Linked DNA regions of Homo sapiens: all the other regions are linked to region 2. Evidence: promoter capture Hi-C in 16 types of primary human blood cells and fetal thymus (Javierre and others, 2016). All regions are on one chromosome and are shown on one strand. The core of a region is centred on a gene start or on the middle of the fragment in contact, and the rest is flanking DNA. Distances in the headings are between cores, read along the strand shown. Region 1 overlaps PARP11 (poly(ADP-ribose) polymerase family member 11). Region 2 holds the start of AKAP3 (A-kinase anchoring protein 3). Region 3 overlaps PARP11 (poly(ADP-ribose) polymerase family member 11). Region 4 overlaps PARP11-AS1 (PARP11 antisense RNA 1). Region 5 overlaps PARP11-AS1 (PARP11 antisense RNA 1).

Region 1 (2,700 bases), core at 81-2,580, 840 kb after region 2:
GTGAGCACGTGATGCTGTGAGTACTTGACACTGGATGAATTGAAGCAGGCATTAAAGAGCTATCAGAAGCCGGGGGAGGGGATTCTTTTTAATTTTTAAAATATGATTTTTATGAAATGTTTCAAGAATGAAAATGCAGCAAATAGTTTGCAGACTCCCATGTATCTACCAATCAGATTTAACATTTTGATACTTGTCACATTTCCTTCCTCTTCACACAGATACAGGTGAAGTGTTTACTCCATCCCTGTCCTACTCTCCTTCTTTCCTCCTGAGATTGGTATGGTGCCTTATTGTTTGTATTTTGTATTTTTTACTACCTGTGTATGTATACCTACATAATACACAGTATTATTTTGAGTTCTCTATCTCTTTTTGCAAAATTCTTTTTACATTCAATATTATTTTTTAAGATTTACTATGTTAATGCACATAGATCTACTTCATTACTTTTAACTTTTATATGTAAATACATGACTATATTCATTTCTCTGTGAAATAATTTTAGGCTGTTTTCAGTTTTTGTTTTCTGTTACAATCAGTCCTACATTAAATATGCTTTTATGTGTTAGGATAGATTTATCCTTGGGAAGAGGATTAAACTGGATGGCTTAATGTCCCTCCCAACCCTATGGTGCAAAATTTAGTCAACTGAACCAACATTTTCTAGTTTCTGAGGATAAAAAGCATATGACATGATCCCTGCTCAAGGAATTCACTGTCTAAAGTCTCTGCAAACTTTGTATTACTTGTTTGTTGTCTCATTTTTAGGCATCTATAAAGGTTAGCTGGTTTAGACAATCAATTACCTTTATGATATTGGGGCATAGCATGGGATAACTATAGTTTTTGGCATAATTTTCAACCTTAAGTTTCAGTGTTAACTAATAATTTTTGATGAGATGATTTATGTGTCCAAGAACATTTGAAATTATTTCTTTTCTAGACTTGCTTTGTCCACTTGTTATTTATATTAAAGTATTTCCTGTTTTACGCTTTCTATTGAACCTTGCTCATTAAGATTAATAAATGCTACTTATGGTATATTTCTGTGTGCTTTTGTGTCTGTGTATATTGTGTTTTTAGGAAAAAGGCTCAGCTCAAGAAAAAAAGAGGTGTGCCTCAGATTAATGAACAAATGCTGTTTCATGGTACCAGCAGTGAATTTGTGGAAGCAATCTGCATTCATAACTTTGATTGGAGAATAAATGGTATACATGGTGCTGTCTTTGGAAAAGGTAATTATCAGAATTCCAGGTCCAATTTGAGCCCCAGGAGAGAGTTTCCTCTTTTTAGAGGAATATAAATATAAATATGAACTGCTTTATGGCAAATATATAGAGAATGATAAAACAAATGGATTATAATTGCATTGTGTACGAGAATAGATACTAGTGTTTTTGTTTTATTTTGTTTTTAAGAAAATCATAGGTAAGAATATTAGTGAGCAATAAGGAATAGTGGGGGAAAACTTCACGTTATTTATAATGTTGTGAAAATCCAAGTTTTTCAATTTATGTCTGGTACTCAGGCAAATTAAGGAGAGAGGTGAGGGGAAAAGGTATGGGATGTACATTTAATTTTCTGGTCCTTACTTTGTACCTTGCTTCCAGCAAGAGAACTGACTACTGTTTAGGATCAGGATATGCTGCATTTTGAAAATGTAAATTAATTTAAAAAATAACTACTAAAAAGGCCATTCCACTTATTTAACTGTAAGGAGGTCAGAAGGTGTTACATAAATCCCATCAGTGTTAGGTAAATATGAGACTTTGCAATTCATTTCCACATTTTTTTAGAGTAAGAATGCCCTTAATGATGTCTATCTCTTGTGTCTACCATTTCAGAAGAGTTGGCTGCTTTATCGAGTTTTCATGTGTAGGCAGTGAGCCAGTAAAATCATTTTTGTTTTGGAATGCTCAGATATGAATAGCATTATACTCTCTCAGAAATCTTTTCATGGATATGGGATTCTATTGTTTCCAGAAATATTACTGAATTGTTATCCCATATCATAGAAATACGGTTTCTTGGGGTTTAAAAGAATCCCTGTAGGCCATCGGTTTCCACTGTGCTCTCTAGAGCTTTGCTGGATGTTGACAAGGGAACAGGGTGAGGAAGTGGTGAAAGGAAATAGAAACGGGAGGGAGGGCCAAGCAGTAAAACTCAGGGCCGGGCATGGTGGCTCACGCCTGTAATCCCAGCAGTTTGGGAGGTCGAGGCAGGTGGATCACCTGAGGTCAAGAGTTCAAGATCAGCCTGGCCAACATGGTGAAACCCTGTCTCTACTAAAAAAATATAAAAATTAGTTGGGTGTGGTGGCACGCGCCTGTAATCCCAGCTACTCAGGAGGCTGAGGGAGGAGAATCGCTTGAACCTGGGAGGCGGAGGTTGCAGTGAGCTGAGATCGCGCCACTGCACTCCAGCTTGGGAGACAGAGCAAGACTCTGTCTCAAAAAAACAGAACAAAACAAAACTCAGGTCCAACCACACTTTTAATCATTAAACCAGTTTTATCTGTTTTATTAATTGTTTTCTTTGTAAGATTTATTTTAAAAACAGAAGTCTGATAGCTATATTTTGGTGGGGGCAGGGGATGGTGTTGGTGGTGAGGACTGGTCTGTACCAACAAATCTATTCCTATGGCAGTCTATACTACAGCTGTCCATAACAGATGGATTTCTATTCTTCTCTTAAAGA
Region 2 (2,700 bases), core at 201-2,700:
AGTCAGAGGAAAGTAAGTTAAAAGAGGAAAATTAATAAAAATACCTAGAACTGGAGATTGCAGATAGCAGGTACTCAATAAATAGTGATTACCATTCACAATCTACATTACGTCATACAATTGTAATAGTTTAACAAGAACCAGCAAATGTCTTTGCAAAGACATTGTGACTACAAAACCATCCACTATAAGTGATGTGCACCACCACCTTCCCAGTGGTATGCAGGAGTTCTACCCAAGATGGAAAACAAAAAAAAAAGGATCCTCTAAACACTCCTAATTCTTGCCTCAGGCTGAACATCAAGCCTATCTGTGGTGCTTTTAAAAATTTAAGGTGCAAGGAGCTAATCTCACAAATTCTGACTCAATAGCTCTACACTCAGTCCTCATTTCTAATTTTTATAAAGCTTTACGAGTGATTCTGACATGAGCCAATTTTGAAAGCAAATGATATTCTGTAACGACTAAAATACACTAAGAAAAATACAACTTTGGGGGTTTGATTGGAATATGTTTGTGGAAGAGTAGAGGGTGAAAGGACAATGATGAAGTGTAACCGTATTTCTAATTTCCTTGCTTTTTAGTGAGTGGAAGGACAAATGTATGTTTTCAGTTTGAGGAGTGGGAGCAGATCCAATCAGAACAGAAGAGAAACTAAATAATGCTAACAAATTCTAACATAGCCTTCATTCTTCACTTTCCTTTCCACCAAGCTCCTGATTCTTCTCTCCTCAAACATCACTCTCTCCCCCAGACCCCAACGCACTTTGCCGAACACATTCTACATCCGTAGAGACGCTTTTGGGTAAAAGGATGCTTTTACAAATATTAGCTCATTTAATCTTATCAGAGACTCCCTGGTATTGTAATATTATCATTTCCATTGTGCTCATATGAATTGAGACCCATTAAGGGTTTGCACAAGGTCATAAAATCAATCTAAGAAAACCTCTCGCCACTAGCCTTTTTTCCCTCCCTTACACATTTCTCCCCCCGCCCCATACAAATATTTCTCATAACCCTAAACCCTTACAACCATATCAGAATTCTGATTCTCTCGATCCCTAACGTGTCCCCCGCATTCTCCTCTTCGCTTACAGCTGCTTAAGATCTTTTGTCCCCTCCCAAGGTGGTGCACAATTGAATATGTGAGCCGGGGAAGCGGAAAGCGAAAGGAGAAACCAGACTGAGGCAGCTCCAAACCTAGAGAAACCAGAGTGTGCCTAGGAAGTTGGCGTGACCGCTGCAGCACGGTGCCACTTCCAAAACCTTAAATCCCCGTCTCGGAATCCCGACCAGGGGCCGCCGTTCCCGGTAACACTTACGTGACATTGACAGGACCCGGACAACCCGGGATTGTGCGGCAGCCGCCATCTTTTCCCACAATCCCCCACGACAGCACTCCCGGCTGACTACGGCTGCTAAGCTGGGTCAAAACTTACCTTTCTCGCCTGTCTGCGCAAGCGCTAACCAAGAAACGACGGTTTCGGGTAGATTGTTGGTTAAGAAGAAAGCTGGGAAAGTGAAGGAGAGGGGGAAGAAAGGAAGTGAAAAGACTTTGGCTGTTGGAATCTCAGATCTGGAATAGGCTGTATAGGCTATTTATAATCTCTAATTGCCGAGGAACCTGAAGTTCAGAGTTAACCAGTGACTGACTCAGGACATGCAAAATGGCAAGACCCGAGGTAGAAGAGCTCACCTTTCCTGACTCTCAGTTTCCTGTTCCCTGAAAATGTAAGCTAAGCTGGCAGCCCTGGTGAGTCCGGAGGAAGAAGGAGGCGTAGCCCTCCGCGCTCAGGAGATCCAGGGCCCAGGAGAGAGAAAAGGGGGGACAAGAACGAGGGGAAAAGTGGAGAAGAGAAACCAAAATAGGGTGTGTCCCAAGTAAATAAATGTGCGTCGAGCCCGCCAAGCACATTCTCTCATAGGGACCCTTGCGCCTGCTGTTCGCGTTTCCTGGAATGCACACTCAGGTGTCTGCACCAGCTCAAGTCTCTGCTCAAAAGTGACCTCTTCGGATAAAACTTCTCTGACCATCCTATCCAAGGTGGTAATTATTCCACCAATTTTTGGTTTAAGTTTATATACCAAAGCACTTATCACCAACTAGCATATGAATCTAGGAGTTCTTAACCAGAAGTGTGATTCATGAGTGGGCTTCGGGAAATCTGTGAACTTCCTGAAATATTATGCAAATTTAGTGGCCATGTGTGCCATCTGAACATCTGTCTAAGGAGAAACTGCAGATGGCTCTCTCTAGCGCAATGGCTTGTAATTTTTTCTTTAACTGTGGTCACCTTTGAGAATCTGCATTGTTCTACAAAGAGCCATCTAGAAACTGAGGAAATTCCAGGTTAGACTAAGCGCTTGGATTTTAAAATACTTTATTCTGGTCAACCTCTCCAGATTGCTGGGTAGGAGATGGCAACCAGTGATCCTGTGAAACATACCTTAGGCTTATCAGAAAACCACCTAGTTTGGGGAGGGCGGGTTCTTTCTAGACTTGGTAATCCTTCCAGTGCTTTGTTTTTTCAGGAAAAGTATGTGTTTCTGGGATAGACAAAAAGGCCTGTGATGAGTAGGGATGTAGAAGTTGCTTATTACTAGGCTTGAAATCTTGGCTGTTTCCACTCTATCTTGCCCCTACTGTTTACTGAAGTGTCGCCTAACAAATTGAATTGGAAGAGAGAAAAAAACCTT
Region 3 (2,700 bases), core at 160-2,659, 790 kb after region 2:
CAAACAAATGATTTTTTAAAAGGTACGATTCAGTGGGAAAAGGACAGTTGTTTTAACTAATGATGCTGAAACAATTGGATACCCATATGCAGAAAAATGAACGTCACTCCATACTTTGCTATACTATAAAAATTATATATATAGTATATAAAATATACTAATAAAATATATAGTATAGAAAAATTTATAAACTATAAAATTTACTAAAAATGGATCATAGACCTAAATGCAGAATCTAAGACTACAAATTTCCAGGTGAAAAAAATAGAAAAAAAAATACATATATTTATTTTTTTGAGACAGAGTCATGCTTGGTTGCCTAGGCTGTAGTGCAGTGGTGTGATCATAGCTCATTGTAACATTGAACTCCTGGGCTCAAGCAATCCTCTTGCCTGTCTCCCAAGTAGCTGGGACTACAGGTGCATGCTACCATGCCCAGCTAATTTTTAAATTTTTTGTAGAGATGGGGTTTTGCTATGTTCCCCAGGCTAGTCTCAAACTACTGACTTCAAGTGATCTAGTCTAAAACTCCTGGTCTCAATCTTCTGGGTGCAGCCTCCCAAAGTGCTGTGATTACAGGGATGAGCCACTATGCCTGGCTGAGAAAAATCTTTTTCAAATCTTAAAATTTGTATTTCTCTAATGACTAATCATGTTGAACATCTTTTCATGTATTTTCCATCTGCTTGTTTTTTTGGTGTGGTTTCTGCCAGCATTGGTTAGGTACGGAGTCTCGCTCCATCAACCAGGTTGGAGTGCAGTGGTGCTATCTCATCCTACTGCAAGCTCTGCCTCCTGGGTTCACGCCATTCTCCTGTCTCAGCCTCCCGAGTAGCTGGGACTATAGGCACCCTCCACCACGCCTGGCTAATTTTTTTGTATTTTTGGTAGAGACGGGGTTTCACCGTGTTAGCCAGGATGGTCTCAATCTCCTGACCTCGTGATCCGCCCGCCTCGGCCTCCCAAAGTACTGGGATTACAGGCGTGAGCCACCACGCCTGGCCACAAAGATTCTTTTTAGCTACAATGCCAGGACTATGATCGATGAAAAAAAAAAGTGATAAAACAGACTTTATCAAAATTAAAAACTTCTGCTGTTGAAAACATGCTTCTAGGAGAATGAAAAGATAAGCCACAGACGGGAGAAAGTATTTAAAAAGCATATATCTGATAAATGACTTGTACATAGAATATATTAAGAACTCTGAAATCTCAAGAGAAGGAACTCAATTTTTTAAAGTGAGCTAAAGATATGAATAGACACTGCACCAAAGAAGATAAGCAGATGGAAAATAACAACATGAAAAGATGTTCAACATCATTATTCTTTAGGGAAATGGAAAATAGAACCACAATACTGCCCATCTATCAGATTGGCAAATATTAAGAAAAGCCTTAATGCCATTTATGAGGACTTTGCCTTCATGATCTAATCACCTCCCAAAGGCCCCATTTTCATATCACATTAGGAGTTAGAATTTCAACATAATAATTTGGCAAGGACACAAACGTTTAGTCTATAACATTCTGGCCCTGGCCCTTCCCTCCACGAAAAATTTGTGTCTTCGTTGCATGCAAATTACATTCATTTTATCCCAATCACCCCAGAGTCTTAACTGATACCAGCATCAACTTTAAAGTCCAACATCTCATCTAAATATTATCTAAATCAGATGCAGTTGAGCCCAAGGTATGATTCATCCTGAGGCAAATTCTCCTCCAGCTGTGACCCTGTGAAACCAAATATGTGCTTCCAAAATGCAATGGTGGTCTGAGTTTGGTGGCTTGTGCCTGTAATCCCAGCTACCTGGCAGGCTGAGGTGGGAGGATCACTTGAGGCCAGGAGTTGAAGACCAGCCTGAGCAACATGGCAAGACTGTCTCTGAAAAAATTGAAAAATTAATTGGCCAGACGTGGTGTCATGTGCTTGTAGTCCCAGCTCCTCAGGAAGCTGAAGCACAAGGATCACTTGATACTAGGAGTTCGAGGTTGCAGTGAGCTATGATGTGTCACTGCACTTTAGCCTGGACAAGACTAAAGTGCAAGACAACAGAGCAAGACCCTGTCTCTAAAAAAATTAAAAAGTTAAAAAATATAGTGGTGTGCTAGTCATAGGGTAGACATTCCATTCTGAAAGGGAGAAAAAGGAAGGAAGAAAGGGGTGACAGGTCCCGAGCAAGTTCCATGAAATCTTAAGGCTACAAAATGAATGATTGGCTTGATGCTCTGCCTTCCAGAGAAGTGGAAGTGCTGCCTTCTGGACCCTCTGATGGGGTTGGTCACAATCCCTGGGCTTTGAGAGGTCCAGCCCTCATGAGCCATCTGGCCTATTGAAAGCAAGGCAGTGGTCCCTTCTTTTGTTGAACCAAGGAAGCATCCCGGATGATCTCTGAATTGCTTTTAGGGTCCTTCCTTGTCTTAAAGAAGAGCACACATTTGCAGCTGAATTGCTCTATGGTCCCATCCTGAAAAATCCAAGAAGTCTACCAACCCTCCTTCATTTCTTCCCATCTACTATTTTTTCATTTCAAATTGGCAGTTGTCCTGCTGGGGCGGTCCACATCCATACTAATCTTATCAAATGATCATTTGACCACAACCTTAGTGTTGTCCTCTGAACAGACTTTCTCATTCTTTTCAATATGGGTAGGTTGAGAATTTTCTGCATCTTTAAGTACTGGTTCTTTTTTGCTTAATAAT
Region 4 (2,700 bases), core at 163-2,662, 770 kb after region 2:
ATATAACTAACACATATTTGCATATAACCTACACATATCTTCCTGTATACTTTAAATTACCTAACAACAGTACAGATGCTACGTAAACAGTTGTTATACTGTATTGTTCAGGGAATAATGACAAGAAAAAAAATGTCCATGGTCAGTACAGACACAACCATCTATTTTTTTCTCAATATTTCTGATCCATGGTTGGTTGAATGCATGATTGTGTAACCCATGGGTATGGAGAACCAACTATACAATGGTATTCCCCCAGCCCCAATTTCACTTCCTGCGATTTCAGTTTTCCGCTGTCAACCATCACCTGAAAATATTAAGATTCAAGAGATAAATAATTCATGTTTAAAATTGCATGCCATTCTGAGTAGCATAATGAAATCTCATGCCATTCCCTTCCCGTTTTCCCCAAGATGTGAATCCTCCCTTTAGTCACTATTTCCATGGTGTCTGCAGGCGCACCTTCTTTTATTTATTGCACTTTGCTTTATCATGTTTCACAGATGTTGCTTTTTTTTTTCTTTTCCTTTTTCTTTTTTTTTTTTTTTTAACAAACTGAAAGTTTGTGGCACCCTGCTCAAGCAAGTCTATCAGTTCCGATTTTCTAACAGCATGTGCTCTCTTTATGTTTCTGTGTCACATTTTGGTAATGCTCACAATAATCCAAATTTTTCATTATCATTCTATCTGTCATGGTAATCTGGGATCAGTGATTTTTGGTGCTACTATTAGAATTGTTTCAAGATGTTATGAACCGCACTCATATAAGATAGCAAACTTAACTGATAAATGTGTGTGTTCTGACTGCTCCATCAACCAGCCCTTTCCCTGTGTCTCTCCCTCTCCTCGGGCCTCCTTATTCCCTGAGACACAACAATATTGAAAGTAGGCCAATTAATAACCCTACAATGGCCTCTAAGTGTTTAAGCAAAGGGAAGAACACACGTCTCTCACTTTAAATCAAAACTAGAAATGATTAAGCTTAGTGAGGAAAGTGTGTCAAAAGCCAAGATAGGCCAACATCTAGGTCTGTTGTACCAAACAGCCAAGTTGTGAATGCAAAGGGAAAATTCTTAAAAGTGCTACTCCAGTAAACACACAATGATAAGAAAGTGAAAAAAACTGTATTGCTGCTATGGAGAAAGTTTCAGTGGTCTGGATAGAAGATCAAACCAGCCACAACACAGCCTAATCCAGAGCAAGGCCCTAACTCTCTTCAATTCTATGAAGGCTGAGAGAAGTGAAGAAGCTGCAGAAGAGGCTTGAAGCTATCAGAGGTTGGTTAATGAGGTTTAAGAAAGAAGAGATCTCCATGCGCCGGGCGCAGTGGCTCATGCCTGCAATGCCAGCACTTTGGGGGGCTGAGGTGAGTGGATCACGAGGTCAGGAGATCAAGACCATCCTGGCCAACACGGTGAAACCCTGTCTCTACTAAAAAAATACAAAAAAATTAGCTGGGTATGGTGGTGGGCACCTGTAGTCCCAGCTACTCGGGAGGCTGAGGCAGGAGGATGGTGTAGACCCGGGAGGCAGAGCTTGCAGTGAGCCGAGATGGTGCCACTGCACTCCAACCTGGGTGACAGAGTGAGACTCTGTCTCAAAACAGAAAAAAAAAAAAAGAAAGAAGCCATCTCCATAACATAAAAGTGCAAGGTGAAGCAACAGGGCTGGTGGAGAAGCTGCAGCATGTGATCCAAAAGATCTAGTTGAAATTATTGATGAAGGTGGCTCCACTGAACAACGGATTTTCAGTGTAAGCAAAACAGCCTTCTATTGGAAGAACATGCCATCTAGCACTTTCATAGCTAGAGAGTAAAAGTCAATGCCTGGCCTCAAAGCTTCAAAGAAAAAGCTGACTCTCTTTTTAGGAGCAAATGCAGCTGATGACTAAGTTGAAGGCAATGTTCATTTACCATTTCTGAAAACCTTAGAGCCCTTAAGAATGATGTTAAATCTACTCTGTCTGTGCTCTCGAAATGGAACAACAAAGCCTAGATGACAGCACCTCTGTTGACAGCATGGTTTATTGAATATTTTTAGCCCATTGTTGAGATCTACTCACCAGAAAAAAAGATTTATTTCAAAATATTATTGCTCATTAACAATGTGCCTGGTTACCCAAGAGCACAGATAAGGATGTACAAGGAAATTAATGTTGTTTTCATGCCTGCTAACACACCATCCATTCTGTAGCCCATAGATCAAGGAGTTATTTTGACTGTCAAGTCTTATTATTTAAGGAATACATTTTGTAAAGGTATAGCTGCCATATATAGTGATTCCTTTGATGGATTTGAACAAATAATTTGAAAACCTTTTGTATATAATTTACCATTGAAAATAATATTAAGAATATTCATGATTCATGGGAGAAGATTAAAATGCCAACATTAACAGGAGTTTGAAAGAAGTTGATTGCAGTCCTTATGGAAGACTTTGAGGGATTTAAGACTTCAGTGGAGGGCAGTCACTACAGATGTGATGGAAATAGCAAGAGAACTAGAATTAGAAATGGAGCCTGAAGATGTGACTGAATTGCTGCAATCTCATGATGAAACTTGAACCAATGAGGAGTTGCTTCTTACGGATGAGCAAAGAAAGTTTCCTGAGATAGAATCTACTTCTGCCGATCATGCTGTGAACATTGCTGAAATGTCAGCATAGGACTGAAAATATTTCACAAACTCAGTTGATATAGCA
Region 5 (2,700 bases), core at 115-2,614, 750 kb after region 2:
TTGCTCTGCCTGTTACAATTCCCCTTATGCTACCTGGCAAACACTAGTTGTTTTGTAGCCATGTCAGAATTTTTTGGCTCATGTTGGGCTTTTTGTTAACTACAATCTTCAAGACTTTTTCCCATTAACTATTGTCAATAATTTGAATAACTGAGTTTTTTTTTTTTTAATCAATATGAAGAACTTGCATTTTCTCCATTAAATTCCATCATGCTTATTTTGGCTCCTTGTTCAGGCAAACCACCATATCCTGTTTCTGTCATGCGGCATATTACTTAGACTTCTTCATTTTGTGTCAACTCATATTTATATGTTGGCATCTCTTTCATGTCATTGAAAGGATTTTCACAGAACCGGGCACCAAACAAGGACTAGCGGCATCTTGTGCTACACCTCTCTCTGAGTTGACTTGGCCCCGCCTGTCCAGTGCTTTTTGGATACAATGGTTTGCCTAGCTGTGCCTTCACCAAGCCATAGATCACCCAGGCCCTATCCATTCATTGTACCATAAAATGTGTTGTCGGAAGCCCTGTTGAAAGATTCACTACCTCTGGGACAATCTTGAGAGTTTTGGTAATCTTTCAAAAAAGAAAAAAATGTGAAGTGATGTTAGTATGACATGGTTTGTTCTACATAACCTGTGCTGGCTTCTTGAGATTACCACTTCCTTTTCAAAGCGATTGTAATCTAACTCCTTAATAATGCAGCTTACAGTTTGCTGGGGATCAAAGTTAAACTCAACAGTGCAAAGTTCCCCAAACCTACATATTTCCCCTTTTGACAACTCGGACAGTTGCCCATCACTAATCTTCTGGCATCACTCCTGAGATTCCTGAAAGATTACTGACAATCATTCTATGATTAAATCTACAAATTCTTTCAGTCCCCAGGGATGGAATTTGTCAGGGCCTGGAGATCTAAGCTTATTTAGAGAGCCCAGGTATTCATTTTCTAAAGAGCTTCATAACTAGGGCTGCAATTGCTTCTTTGCAGTGTTTATATTGTTCTTTCCAGTTTGAAGATCATTCTGAGAGATAGAGATGATGGAAGCTAAGTAGGAGTTGCATAATTCTGCTTTGTATCTGTCATCTGCTAGCATTACACCATCTGCCCCAAGCACAGGATCTGGCCCTTCCCTATTCTTCCTGCTCAGAATATACTTGCACAAAGCTCTTTTTGCTGTTCCTGAGCATTTTTTGCAAGTCTCAGCTCATTCTGAGCCCCAGCCTTGCTAACACTATGGCTACAAGCCTGTGACACTCTTTGCTTTTCTTCTCCGGTGATGTGCCCTGCTTAGTGCTTTTGTAAAGGCTCTTTGAAAACCTGAGAGTGCTGGAGGGCTTCCCCTGCTGGCTCGGGGTCTTCCCTTTGCTTCCTAGTCAGGATCACTGGAGACTGTATTGCCAGAATTTAATTTTGGAAAGAATGTTGCTTTAATGCTTCTTCTGTCCTCTCATTCTTTGAAAACAAAACAACAAAACAAAACAAAATAGTACAACAACAACAACCACCACAAAAATCACAGCTGCAAATGAGGTCTGATTAGAAACCAGTACAGTGTATTTAGGCTCATCATGGTAAAAAAAAATCTGACAAATGATAAAAAGCGTTGCTTAGTTTGCTTTAAATAAGAATGTGGAGGAACTGTTTTTTCTAGTTCATTGTGCAATGAGAAAAAAGGGAGGGAGCAGAGATCCAAAAAACAAGGACAATTAATATTGAGTAGCAACTACGTTCTTTCATTTAATCTTCATGTCAGTCCTGGAAGCACTGTCCTGATTTAGAGATGGAGAAAAATGAAGCTTAAGTTAAGTGACTTAGAGTAACTTTGTAAACCAGTGGGTAGAACCAAGGGTCAAACTCAGGCAGTGTGATTGGACTGCTCATGTGCTTTTTCCTACATTACGGGTATAGGTAAGCAGCTCACAAAACCATTCCACCCAAAGATGTGTTTTTTGGACCCTATGGCATTTAAAAAAATGTTTAGATTTATTGCCGACATTTATAACTTAGGAGATTTTACGTTCACTTCTAGAATCCTAGCTACTTTTGAGAACCTCTGGCCCTACATTTCCCCCATGGAAACCATTGGCCAAGTGGAGTAGTGGCGATCTGCCCTCTCCAGGTTGCCCCAATCCCCACCTTCCCCCTCATTTATATTCCCCGCTTGGTCCTGTTAGATGTTTGAGTTTGCACTGCCTTAGGCTATGCTGATACTCCATTGTTTTTCCTGGTTTCTGAGAGAAAGCCTTCTGCCATATGGAAAAGAAGGGAGCAAAGGTTATGAAAATCAAAGATATGTCTCTTGCACTCAATTCGGCCTTATTATTCCCCTGGAAAGGGCCTCCCAGAATCTTAAGAGGTTCCGAAAAAGAGTGTGCTTGTTTCACTCAGCTTGTCCCAGGATCCTCCATTCCCAATAATGGACTCCCTTTTGCACTGTGTTTCTTAAACCACAGAGTCTAACAAGAACATCATTCAACTTTTTAAAGCCTGTATGTATGGGCAAGAGAGCCTGTTCATATGACCTTCTAAATAGGACTCTTGGGCACGATCAGAATGTCTGGCTAAGCCTGCCTTCGTGGTTAGACACCACTAACAGACCATTGAAAATATGCACGTCGTAGATCATAGAGTGGACAGAACCTAGGCTGAGGATCAGGAAATCTGTTTTTTCATCTTGGTTCTGGTGTTAGAGGG

The links. Contacts are between HindIII fragments. The CHiCAGO score rates a contact against its expected background, and 5 or more counts as called.
Region 1: a contact is called between a fragment that was not itself captured here and the fragment with the promoter of AKAP3 in region 2, in 2 of 17 cell types (activated CD4 T cells and total CD4 T cells). The highest score is 5.7, in activated CD4 T cells.
Region 3: a contact is called between a fragment that was not itself captured here and the fragment with the promoter of AKAP3 in region 2, in 5 of 17 cell types (naive CD8 T cells, total CD8 T cells, total B cells and 2 more). The highest score is 5.7, in naive CD8 T cells.
Region 4: a contact is called between a fragment that was not itself captured here and the fragment with the promoter of AKAP3 in region 2, in 1 of 17 cell types (total CD8 T cells). The highest score is 5.1, in total CD8 T cells.
Region 5: a fragment that was not itself captured here is called in contact with the fragment with the promoter of AKAP3 in region 2 in 1 of 17 cell types (naive CD4 T cells); the score reaches 5.9 in naive CD4 T cells.

Annotation. Positions count from the first base shown.
Region 1 is chr12:3,812,575-3,815,274 of GRCh38, reverse strand. It overlaps PARP11 (poly(ADP-ribose) polymerase family member 11), which reads left to right. Exons shown (of 8, transcript NM_020367.6): 7 at 1,087-1,238. Among named protein-coding and RNA genes, the nearest start is that of PARP11-AS1, 56 kb to the left of the region's middle. The HindIII fragment of the contact is 3,710 bases long and covers 1-2,700 here.
Region 2 is chr12:4,647,801-4,650,500 of GRCh38, reverse strand. AKAP3 (A-kinase anchoring protein 3) reads left to right here and starts at 1,450. Exons shown (of 6, transcript NM_001278309.2): 1 at 1,450-1,756. NDUFA9 (NADH:ubiquinone oxidoreductase subunit A9) reads right to left here and starts at 1,387. Exons shown (of 11, transcript NM_005002.5): 1 at 1,326-1,387. The coding sequence starts at 1,374. RefSeq lists enhancers at 962-1,617, 1,486-1,695, 1,976-2,025. The HindIII fragment of the contact is 2,310 bases long and covers 410-2,700 here.
Region 3 is chr12:3,860,047-3,862,746 of GRCh38, reverse strand. The region is part of intron 1 of PARP11 (poly(ADP-ribose) polymerase family member 11); the gene reads left to right. Among named protein-coding and RNA genes, the nearest start is that of PARP11-AS1, 8.8 kb to the left of the region's middle. The HindIII fragment of the contact is 5,372 bases long and covers 1-2,700 here.
Region 4 is chr12:3,877,876-3,880,575 of GRCh38, reverse strand. All of the region lies in intron 1 of PARP11-AS1 (PARP11 antisense RNA 1), which reads right to left. Among named protein-coding and RNA genes, the nearest start is that of PARP11, 5.8 kb to the right of the region's middle. The HindIII fragment of the contact is 857 bases long and covers 984-1,840 here.
Region 5 is chr12:3,895,476-3,898,175 of GRCh38, reverse strand. The region is part of intron 1 of PARP11-AS1 (PARP11 antisense RNA 1); the gene reads right to left. Among named protein-coding and RNA genes, the nearest start is that of PARP11, 23 kb to the right of the region's middle. The HindIII fragment of the contact is 880 bases long and covers 925-1,804 here.